3 separate regions of the Homo sapiens genome follow, and all the other regions are linked to region 3. The links are contacts of gene promoters, found by promoter capture Hi-C in human tissues and cell types (Jung and others, 2019). All regions are on one chromosome and are shown on one strand. The core of a region is centred on a gene start or on the middle of the fragment in contact, and the rest is flanking DNA. Distances in the headings are between cores, read along the strand shown.

Region 1 (3,467 bases), core at 851-3,350, 190 kb before region 3:
TCATTGAACAAATATTTAGTTTGAATATCTGCTCTGTGCCAGGCAATATTCTACACACCAGTGATACCAAAGTGAATAAAATAGGCCAAAATCTTCTGTGTGCATATCTACCATACCCCACCTGGACTTCTCATAATACTTAGCCTAGTGACTTGCTGGATGTCGTAGGCTGCCAATGGCCTCCAAAATTAAGCCCATGTCCTAATCCAGGAAATGTGTGAATGCTACTTTATATATTTAAAAAAATTATTTGTAGATGTGATTATATTAAGGATCTTAAGACAGATTATCCTGTATTATCTAATGTAGCCTAAATACAATCACAAGTGTCCTTAAAAGAGAGTCAGAGGGAGATTTTACACACACACACACACACACACACACACACACACACACACACACGAAGGCGACATTACCACAGAGTCAGAAATTGGAGCCAGGCAGCCACAAAACCAAGAAATGCCTGCAGCTCCCAGAAGCTCAAAGAGGAAAGGACTGGATTCTCCCCTAGAGCCTCCAGAGGGGGTACCCTGCTGACACCATGATTTCAGCCCAGTGATGCTGATTTTGGACTCGCAACCTCCATAACTCTGCAAGTATAAATTGTGGTTTTGCCACTAAGCTTGTGGTAATTTGTTACGGCAGGCACAGGAAACTAATAAATTGCATGATGAAGTCTAAAGTTTAGGTGGGCCTTACAAAAAGGAAAAAAAAAAGAAGACATACCCTTTAATTTTTCTCTTCAAGAAAAGTACAAAGGGAACATGTACTAAGTAGTTATAGGTTAAATGTGCTATCCTCAACAAAATGTCTAGTATCAAACCTCTCAAATATTTCCTAGATATATAAATATATGAAAACACATACAAACGGTGTTCGCAGCCGCCACCGCGCTGCCGTCGCTCTCCAACGCCAGCGCCGCCTCTCGCTCGCCGAGCTCCAGCCGAAGAGAAGGGGGGTAAGTAAGGAGGTCTCTGTACCACGGCTCGTACAAAGCAGACTGCCCGCAAATCGACCGGTGGTAAAGCACCCAGGAAGTAACTGGCTACAAAAGCCGCTCGCAAGAGTGCGCCCTCTACTGGAGGGGTGAAGAAACCTCATCGTAACAGGCCTGGTACTGTGGCGCTCCGTGAAGTTAGACGTTATCAGAAGTCCACTGAACTTCTGATTCGCAGACTTCCCTTCCAGAGTCTGGTGCGAGAAATTGCTCAGTACTTTAAAACAGATCTGCGCTTCCAGAGCGCAGCTATCGGTGCTTTGCAGGAGGCAAGTGAGGCCTATCTGGTTGGCCTTTTTGAAGACACCAACCTGTGTGCTATCCATGCCAAACGTGTAACAATTATGCCAAAAGACATCCAGCTAGCACGCCGCATACGTGGAGAACGTGCTTAAGAATCCACTATGATGGGAAACATTTCATTCTCAAAAAAAAAATTTTTTTTTTTCTCTTCTTCCTGTTATTGGTAGTTCTGAACGTTAGATATTTTTTTTCCATGGGGTCAAAAGGTACCTAAGTCTATGATTGCGAGTGGAAAAATAGGGGACAGAAATCAGGTATTGGCAGTTTTTCCGTTTTCATTTGTGTGTGAATTTTTAATATAAATGTGGAGACGTAAAGCATTAATGCAAGTTAAAATGTTTCAGTGAACAAGTTTCAGCGGTTCAACTTTATAATAATCATAAATAAACCTGTTAAATTTTTCTGGACAATGCCAGCATTTGGATTTTTTTAAAACAAGTAAACTTCTTATTGACGGCAACTAAATGGTGTTTGTAGCATTTTTATCATACAGTAGATTCCATCCATTCACTATACTTTTCTGAGTTGTACTACATGCAAGTACATGTTTTTAATGTTGTCTGTCTTCTGTGCTGTTCCTGTAAGTTTGCTATTAAAATACATTAAACTATAAAAAAAATACAAACATTGTATAAACATCAAGTGTTTAAATAGTAAATATGAGATTTATTCTTTGGGTAAGGCATACAGTAGATTGTTATGTTTAATTTATTAGTGAAGACAATCCAACAATTTGCGGCTGTTTTATACTTGTGCATTTTTGTGTTCTCCTTACTTGTGAGTATCCCAATGAAATACAGAGCATTTATTATAATAAACTTCTCAACATACAAGGCACAATTTTTTTTTTGTTGAGATGGAGTGTTGTTCTCTTGTCCAGACTTGAGTGCAATGGTGTGATCTTGGCTCACTGTAACCTCCTCTTTCCGAGTTCAGGCGATTCTCCTGCCTCAGCCTCCCGAGTAGCTGGAATTACAGGCACCTGCCACCATGCCCAGCTAATTTTTGTATTTTTAGTAGAGATGGGGTTTCACCATGTTGGCCAGGCTGGTCTCGAACTCCTGACCTCAGGTGATCCACCCGCCTCGGCCCCCCAAATTTCTGGGATTACAGGCATGAGCCACGTGCCCAGCCTAGGCACAGTTTTACATTGTAAATTTTCTCCTGAGAAGTTGAAATGTTTAATGCATTTAAACTATTACAAATGCTAATATTACAAAAGAGGTTGTTTAGATATTGTTGCTGTTTACTATTTAGTAGAAAAAAAGAAAATTAAATTTGAAATATGTTTATGAATTCACTACATGAGAACATTTTTCTCTAAATTTTTTTAAAGATAAGAATGTTTCAATGGGATTAATTCTAGATTAATATTGCCCCGGTCCAGTATTTTTTCCAAAACGATAAATTTGCAAGTTATAAATTCTTACCTTTTAAGCATAAGGTATGTGTGTAGAATTGCTTTCTTTACCTGAATACGTATTAGTTATATGTCTACAAGATCACAGTGAGGGAAAAGACATATCCAACAGACAAAACTACAAATCATTCATTCATTTAATTTGAGTGTATTTTTAAGATACTAAATAATTTTTATATGTCAAAGGCAAATACTGAGGACTCAATTAATTCTTAGTATTTTTATGAAAATTGTATTTCAAAATTAATTTGCATACTGACTTAAAGATGAAATCAGAAAGTTGGCAAATACACTATCCAAATTGCATTCCTGGACAAGAGGGGAGTATTTTGAATTCCTAAATAACCCCTTTCTTAATTTTAAATAGACGTCATCTTATAAAAAGTATGAATGTTATTGGAAGTCTGTTGCTAGGATGAATTATTTCAAACTGGTAGTTATTATCAAAAATGATTTATGACAAGTGCTCAGTCAAAATAAATGCAGTGACCACAGCAGGAGGTATTGCCTTGTGTGACTCTACAAAGAACTTTCTTTCTTTCATTAACTTCAACTTCTGGTTGCTATGGCATCCGGTGACAACCATAACTTTTAGAAATTATCACCATCTGCCCACACCCCTTCTAAGGTTACACACAAGCCCACTCAAGCAGCCAAAATAACACATAAAAATTCCACAAGCAATCTCAAAGTTTGTTGTTTTGTTTTGTATTTGTTTTTGTTTTTGTTTCAAGTATAGATACCTAA
Region 2 (3,327 bases), core at 12-2,511, 220 kb before region 3:
AATTACAAATTCAGTTTAATATTATTATATTTTATTATTGTTACTTTTCTTCTTAAGATGAAGTTATTAAATATCATTTTGATTTATGCAATGTTCACAGTGGCACATAATGTGATTAGAAATTACAATATTCTAATTGTCCCATCCTTTGGAACTCCATTTGTAAAATCAATGGTCATTTTTCTCATGCATTTATTAGATTTCATAATTCAGCCATTTGTAATACCTGGAATATGTGGCATAATGACATGTATGACAGTCCTACAAAGAGTTTCAAAAGCTTTTTGCAATACTCTTACCATACATCTTTCTTATGAGAATTAGAAAATTCAAACATAACTTTATCTTGGAGGTAAAGCCTTTTGAAATATTGCTAAAGTGCATACTGAATAAAGACAACACACTTAAGCGGACTTTCTCCCCTTTAAACAGCATTCATCTTTTCAAAAGCAATAGATTCTCAGTCCACACGGAGTCTGTTGCATTATTCATTTCATGTGCAACCTCATGCTGGACCATAAATTGTTACTTTATCTAATCAAAGGAGACTTAACTCTACAGAAGGTCAAAGGTTTAATTTTGTGAAGTATTATCTTACGCTATGAGTTTAACCGAAAAATAGAAGAAGAAAAACAGCCAAGAAACTGGTAATAAATGAACCTTTATTGCCTCAGGCATTGGCCTAGTTAATAAACTTTCATTGAAGGTTTCTTTCAACTGTTACGGACAATGAGAGGAAAAAAATATTAAATTACAGCCATGTGTGACTTTTAAAGCAGTCATTCTTTTTTATCTCAACCTTCCTAGCTCAGGGAAAGAAGAAAAAAAAAAGACAAAGAGAGATTGTCTTCGATCTCTTAACCAAAAATATATGTTTCTAAACAGATGAAAAAGTGCAGATAAACTTTTCTAAAAGCAGAGGTCAGCTTTGAACAATATTAAAAAAATGCTTTCTTTAGGTGTTGAATCTTAGAAAACAATCTCTCTAGCTCAACGTAAAACTACAAAAGGGAGGAGGGGGACATGTTTTCTTCCCGAAAAGACTAACTCTTAAATTGTAGTCTCCTGCTTAGCACAACATAATGCCTTATAATCTTGTCATTATTGCACAAAGTCAACTGTAGTTTTGATATTAATTAAATGCATTGTAAATAAAACAGTATCTATGTATTATCTGACCTGTTTTAACGCAGAAATCCTTCCTCTGTCATCAGAAATGCTAGTAGCAAAATAATTAATTGATATACAATTAAAATTTTTGAAAGGAACACTTTTATCTTCTTAGCTAATATTCTCAACCAAAAATGAATGGTCTATGTGTAGTTTTTATATCAGTATTTTCTAGAGAAGTAAACGAACTGAGTTCTTCTCAACTACATCCACTTTTTCAGCTGGCACTGTGTTGAGGATGAAAGTTGTCACAGCCTCAATTCCACTTCCACGCCACAGTATAAATAAGGTAGATCCTCCTGTCACCAACAGAGTTCATATAAACTGTGAGACAAGGAAGAAGCAATGTTTTGCATCATACCTCAGATCTTCCGCAAGAAAAGGGGAAAGAGAGCTGGCTCTGTACTAACGGGGCCCTCTCTGCCAGGTTCTATCCACAAATCACAATGCTCTCAGCAGGGCACCCAACCCTATTCCACCTAGCAGCATTTGGACAGAACTGGGGCTCTACTTCATTCCAGGGACATGTCCCCAGGATGCTATCTTGGCCACCTTTGAATCTGAACATGATGGCTGCTTACACCAGCAGCACCAGGTGAAAGCAAGACCAGGCTCCCTACTAAGAAGTGCACTCTGCACAGCTGGAAGGCAATGAGTTCTTCTGGGGTCAAGGATGGAGCAGGTTTATAGCAGCAGCTCTGTTTCTTTTCTGTATTTGCCAAGAATAGTAAAGGAGACTTCTGAGAAGAGACCATCTAACCTGAATCATGAATGGAAAAAAAAAATCAAGTTTTATTCATAGAATATTAAGGATACAAACACGGTGTTTCGAAAAATGTGGTTAAGCCTAGATACCAGAATCCAAAGCAAGTTGGAATAATTGGTTTTCATTAAATTAGTAGAGGGTTTTAGAATCAACGAGCAGGTTTGATTTTACGCAAGAAACCATAAAGTGCTACTCCAAGTTTAGGAGGGGAAGCATTGTCGGAAGAGCAATTGATAAACATGATTCTCCCCCCTCTTTATTTACTGCATAATTTTGACATAGGCATATAACTGGGGAGCTTAAGAAGAAAAAGGTGAAGAAAAATGCAGAAATATCAACTACTTTCTAGAACGAAACACTGTAGTTTAGAATGTACATAAGTGAATGACAAGTTGCATGTATGTGCGTAAACGATTTAGTAATAGCAAGAGTGGTCATGGTTTATAATTTCAATCATCTCATTTACTCTTCTTTAAGAGAAAAAGCCTGAGGTACATTTAGAAGGTGATCTCAAGGTCAGAGAAGCATGGGAGAGTAACAAAAGCAGGTATCTCAAGTCTAATTCTTTGTTCCATTAATCAGATTTTTATGGGCTTGGGAAAGTTGTGCTACAGTACACAGGGAGGATAAGAATAAGGAAAGATCAAGGGAATTCAAAGGATTTATTAAAAGTGCAGACAGTAACTCCGACTAGTGTTTTTGCTAGACAGACACAATTAATTAATTGTAACATTGTGAAACTAAAACGCTGAAAGAACGTGCTCATGCCTGCAATGCAGTAATGTAGCAAATACTTAGAATCTTTCAACCACCAGGAGCTTTTGTTGGTTTTTTAACCTAATCCACAGCTTGACATAGATCCTAGGGTAATAGAACACAGTTCTTTGATTGAAATATCTAAACATTGCTGCACTAGCCTGGTGGCCTAATAAGTCTGTGTTTCTGAAACTTGAGAAATTTCAAGTTTGGAAACAAACTGAGATACTGAACTCTGTCTTGAAAAGTCCTTCAAGAAATTGCCTTTGAGACTGGAATATACTCTTTCCTGTTTAACAGGACCAAAAGAGATATAAAACTTCTGCAATCGGCCAGGTGCGGTGGCTCATGCCTGTAATCCCAGCACTTTGGGAGGCCAAGGAAGGCAGATCACAAGGTCAGGAGTTCAAGACCAGCCTGGCCAACATGGTAAAAGTCCCATCTCTAGTAAAAATACAAAAATTAGCCAGGCATGGTGGCGGGTGCCTGTAATCCCAGCTACTCGGGAGGCTGAGGCAGGAGAATCACTTGAACCCGGGAGGCAGAGCTTGCAGTGAGCCGAGACTGCGCCATTGCACTCCAGCCTGGGCAACCAGAGCAAAACTCCGTCTCAAAAAAAAAAAAGAAAAAAAAAA
Region 3 (3,294 bases), core at 150-2,649:
GCCGGGGCGCGCGGCTCGCGGGCGCGCAGAGCGAGCGGCGCCGGGAAAGGAGCGAGGGCAGGCGAGCAGGCTGGTGGGAAGGGGCGCGGGCGGCGGGGGCTATCCCCCCCGACTCACCTTGCGTTGGTGCAGTCATTGTAGAGGGTCTCGAAGTCCTTCCTGGAGATGAGTTTGCAGCGGTTCACTCCTGGCTGGATGGCGCCCAGTCCCCTCAGGATGCGAACTTGTTCCACATTGCACACCACCGGCGTGATCTCCAGCCGCTTCAGCTTGGTGTAGACCGTATGCAAGCCCCCCACCAAGTGCTTCAGGAACAGGTCGAAAGCCTGGGGCAGGCAGATCAGCTCGCAGCCCTCCACCGTGAAGGAAGCCACTTTGGCCCCCCTCAGATCCACCATTTTGCACTCATTATTCTGAGGGGTGTTTTCCACTGGGGACGGGGTTGAGTACACGGGTTTCCCGGGGAGGGGGCCGCAGCTGCTGCTGCTACTGCTGCTGCTGCTACTACTGCTGCTGCTGCTGCTGCTGCTACTGCTGCTGCTGCTGCTGCCGGTGCTGGCGTTGATGGGGGTGCTGGAAGCGACGCCGCCGCCAGCGCTGATGCCGCCGCCGCCGCCGCCGCTGCCGTTGCTCGCGGCCGCCAGGTTGGGGTTGCAGTTGCTGCCACCGCCGCCGCCGCCACCGCCGCCTCCGTTGCCGCTGCTGCCGCCGCCGCCTCCGCTGCCGCCGCCGCCGCCGCCGCCGCCGGTAGAGGTGACTGTGGCCGCCGCCGCCGCCGCCGAAGCGATGGGCTCCGGGCGGAACAGAGTTGGCCCAGAGGACGCCGGGGGTCCGATGGAAGGAGCCGGAGACGAAGTCGCCGAAGAGGTGGAGGTGGTGGTGCCAGAGGAGGAAGCAGACGTGGAGATTGGGGGTTGAGGGGGGACCAGCTGGGTCGGAGGGATCAAAGCCGCCGGCACTGCCATGGTCACATATAAGGGGAAACAGACGGAGGAGAAGCGAGAGGAAAAGTTGCCACACACCCCCGGGAGGGGAAGGGGAAAAAAGGGGGGAGAAGGAGCGAGGGGGGCAACAACAACTCCGGGAGAGAACGAGAAGGAGAAAGGGAGAGAAGGGGGAGAAAAGGAGGTGAAGGTAATAAAGAGCGAGCGCAAGAGGGGCGAGCACGAGAGGCGCTCTGGAGAGGAACGCACAAAAGTGTCCCGCAAGTCGAAATGCGAGTCCTCTCCGGGGGCTGGGATCGAGGGCTGGTTTGGGGGTGGGGGTGGGGCGGGGAGGGTCGGCTGTTGTTGTGTGGGTCTCGCTCTAGCACAAAGTTAAGGATGAAGGTGAAAAGGAGGAGGTTTGAAGGACTTGGGCTCTCCCTGGCAAGTACATTGATCAAAGATTGAGAGGGGAATGACAGAGAGAAAATGAGCTGAAAAGTGCAGGCTGCCGGCTGGACGAGTTGTTGTTGTCACACGGTGCAGAGGGGAGGAGCTCCGGAAACTTGAAATACCCTTTGAAGCCGCAAAAACCTCACTCACTAGTATTAACCCAAATTATCCAACCAGGAACTCGGAGCAGAGACTCCGAGAGCGCGAGACACTGGAGAGGGAGCGTGCGAGGAAAGGAGGAGGGGAGGGGGAGGATACGGAAAGAAACTGTGGGAGGGACGGAGAGGAAAAGCCGGGGACACAGAAGTGGCGATCGGAAAAGGAGAGGGAGATCATCTACTTCTCTTCTACTACTACCGTTAGATTGCATGTCTCACATTCCATTTCGTCCGCGGGGACTGGTAATTTTTTCCAAAGCTTCTAAACAATCGCCCGCCAACTTAAAGAGGAGCCTGAGCGCGCCGAGCTCTCTCCTTCCAGGATTTAGGATCCATCTCCACGCGTTTTGGCAATGAGCTAGAAACGAAAACACAGCCCCCACTTCACGATTATTCAGAAATTATTTTGAGGAAAATTCACATGTAAGCAAAGCGTAATGTTCTTTTGCATCTGATTGTTTATTTCTCTACTAAATTATTTATTTATATAAAGATAGTGAAAATTCCAGGACAGTTTTCAAGTGGTGAGAAGAAAGTCAGTCCGAAATCGCTTAAGAATAATGGAAAGCTCTGTATTCAATTCCATATTTCCTAATAGGTTGTGGAAAGAAATGCTTGCCTTGATGTGGATGATTTAGAATAACTTCACTGTCTCCCCAAAAGCCAGTCAGAAATACCTGTTAAACCTAGAGCTATCAAGGAGATAAGGTATCCTTGAAGATTTAGAAAGTGGAAAAAGGGTTTTCTTACCCAAAACTCTATAATTAATTCACCTGTCTTACACAGTAACCAACTATCCTCATGTCCTTTAAGACCCAAAGCCAATTGCTAATGTGTTTTTTGGACAACACAATAGTTTTTTTTTTTTTTTTTTCATGTTTGAAAAGTGCTGCTGTAGTTTTGGAAAGTCCTTTTCAATTTGTCAGTAAATATATGTTTTGTAAATAATGGGAAGAACAAAAACAAAGCTCACTAGTTGACTTGTAAAGACTTGGGTAGCTGTGCTTAAAACAACATGAGGCTGAGTTTAGACTGACTCTATTCCTCCTTTCCTTCCTCTTTCCTTTTCTTTTCTTTTCTAACTTGTTGCACTGAAGTATTTATTCAAGGATTTTTGACTAACATATCATTTGAATATGGGTCAAATCTATTTGCTGCTCATGTCTCCAAGTATCTTCAATTAGTTAGCCTTTGAACCGGTCCACACATGTTCAGTAAGTTCATAAGATATGAAGCAATGCTTTAGCATTTGACAGATTTTTAAAATAAACTGTTAGTAGCAGGTTCACAGGGTTGGGAAATTTTATAATAAAATTTTTGCCATTCTGGTGTTGAAATGATCACATTTCTCTATATCATTTTAAGCCTTTGAACTCTGTGAATCGCAGTGTCAAATAGTGCAGGAACTGTCTACCGAAAAATAGAAATATGACACTATGGACTAATTAGTGTATGATTATACTAAAATTTTTGGGACATAGCAGTTAAATCAGGAGGCTTTCCTGGGAGATAAGAATTCAGAAAATCGATTGTTGCAGAAAAGTCCATGAACTTCTGCAAGGACAACTAAAGTTTAAACAGTTGTTTGGCCTGGTTAACCAATGTATTGTAATACATTCAGAAATAATTTTTATTTATGTTTCAGTCTTCAAATTTGTTATGGGTAAAAGTAGGAATTCAATATATATCACATACATCAAAACACTTCCTTAAGTATTTTTGCATGTTTTAGAAAATATTACTTTTTTAAGACATACCAA

Evidence for each region. Contacts are between HindIII fragments. The study calls those that stand out against the background at their distance.
Region 1: a fragment that was not itself captured here is called in contact with the fragment with the promoter of DACH1 in region 3 in 2 of the 25 tissues and cell types used here (mesenchymal stem cells and spleen).
Region 2: a contact is called between a fragment that was not itself captured here and the fragment with the promoter of DACH1 in region 3, in 1 of the 25 tissues and cell types used here (spleen).

What each region holds. Positions count from the first base shown.
Region 1 is chr13:71,674,083-71,677,549 of GRCh38, forward strand. All of the region lies in intron 2 of DACH1 (dachshund family transcription factor 1), which reads right to left. It also overlaps the pseudogene H3P36. Among named protein-coding and RNA genes, the nearest start is that of DACH1, 190 kb to the right of the region's middle. The HindIII fragment of the contact is 7,632 bases long and covers 1-3,467 here.
Region 2 is chr13:71,643,034-71,646,360 of GRCh38, forward strand. The region is part of intron 2 of DACH1 (dachshund family transcription factor 1); the gene reads right to left. Among named protein-coding and RNA genes, the nearest start is that of DACH1, 220 kb to the right of the region's middle. The HindIII fragment of the contact is 6,494 bases long and covers 1-3,327 here.
Region 3 is chr13:71,865,805-71,869,098 of GRCh38, forward strand. It overlaps DACH1 (dachshund family transcription factor 1), which reads right to left and starts at 1,400. Exons shown (of 11, transcript NM_080759.6): 1 at 118-1,400. The coding sequence starts at 965. The HindIII fragment of the contact is 6,446 bases long and covers 1-3,024 here.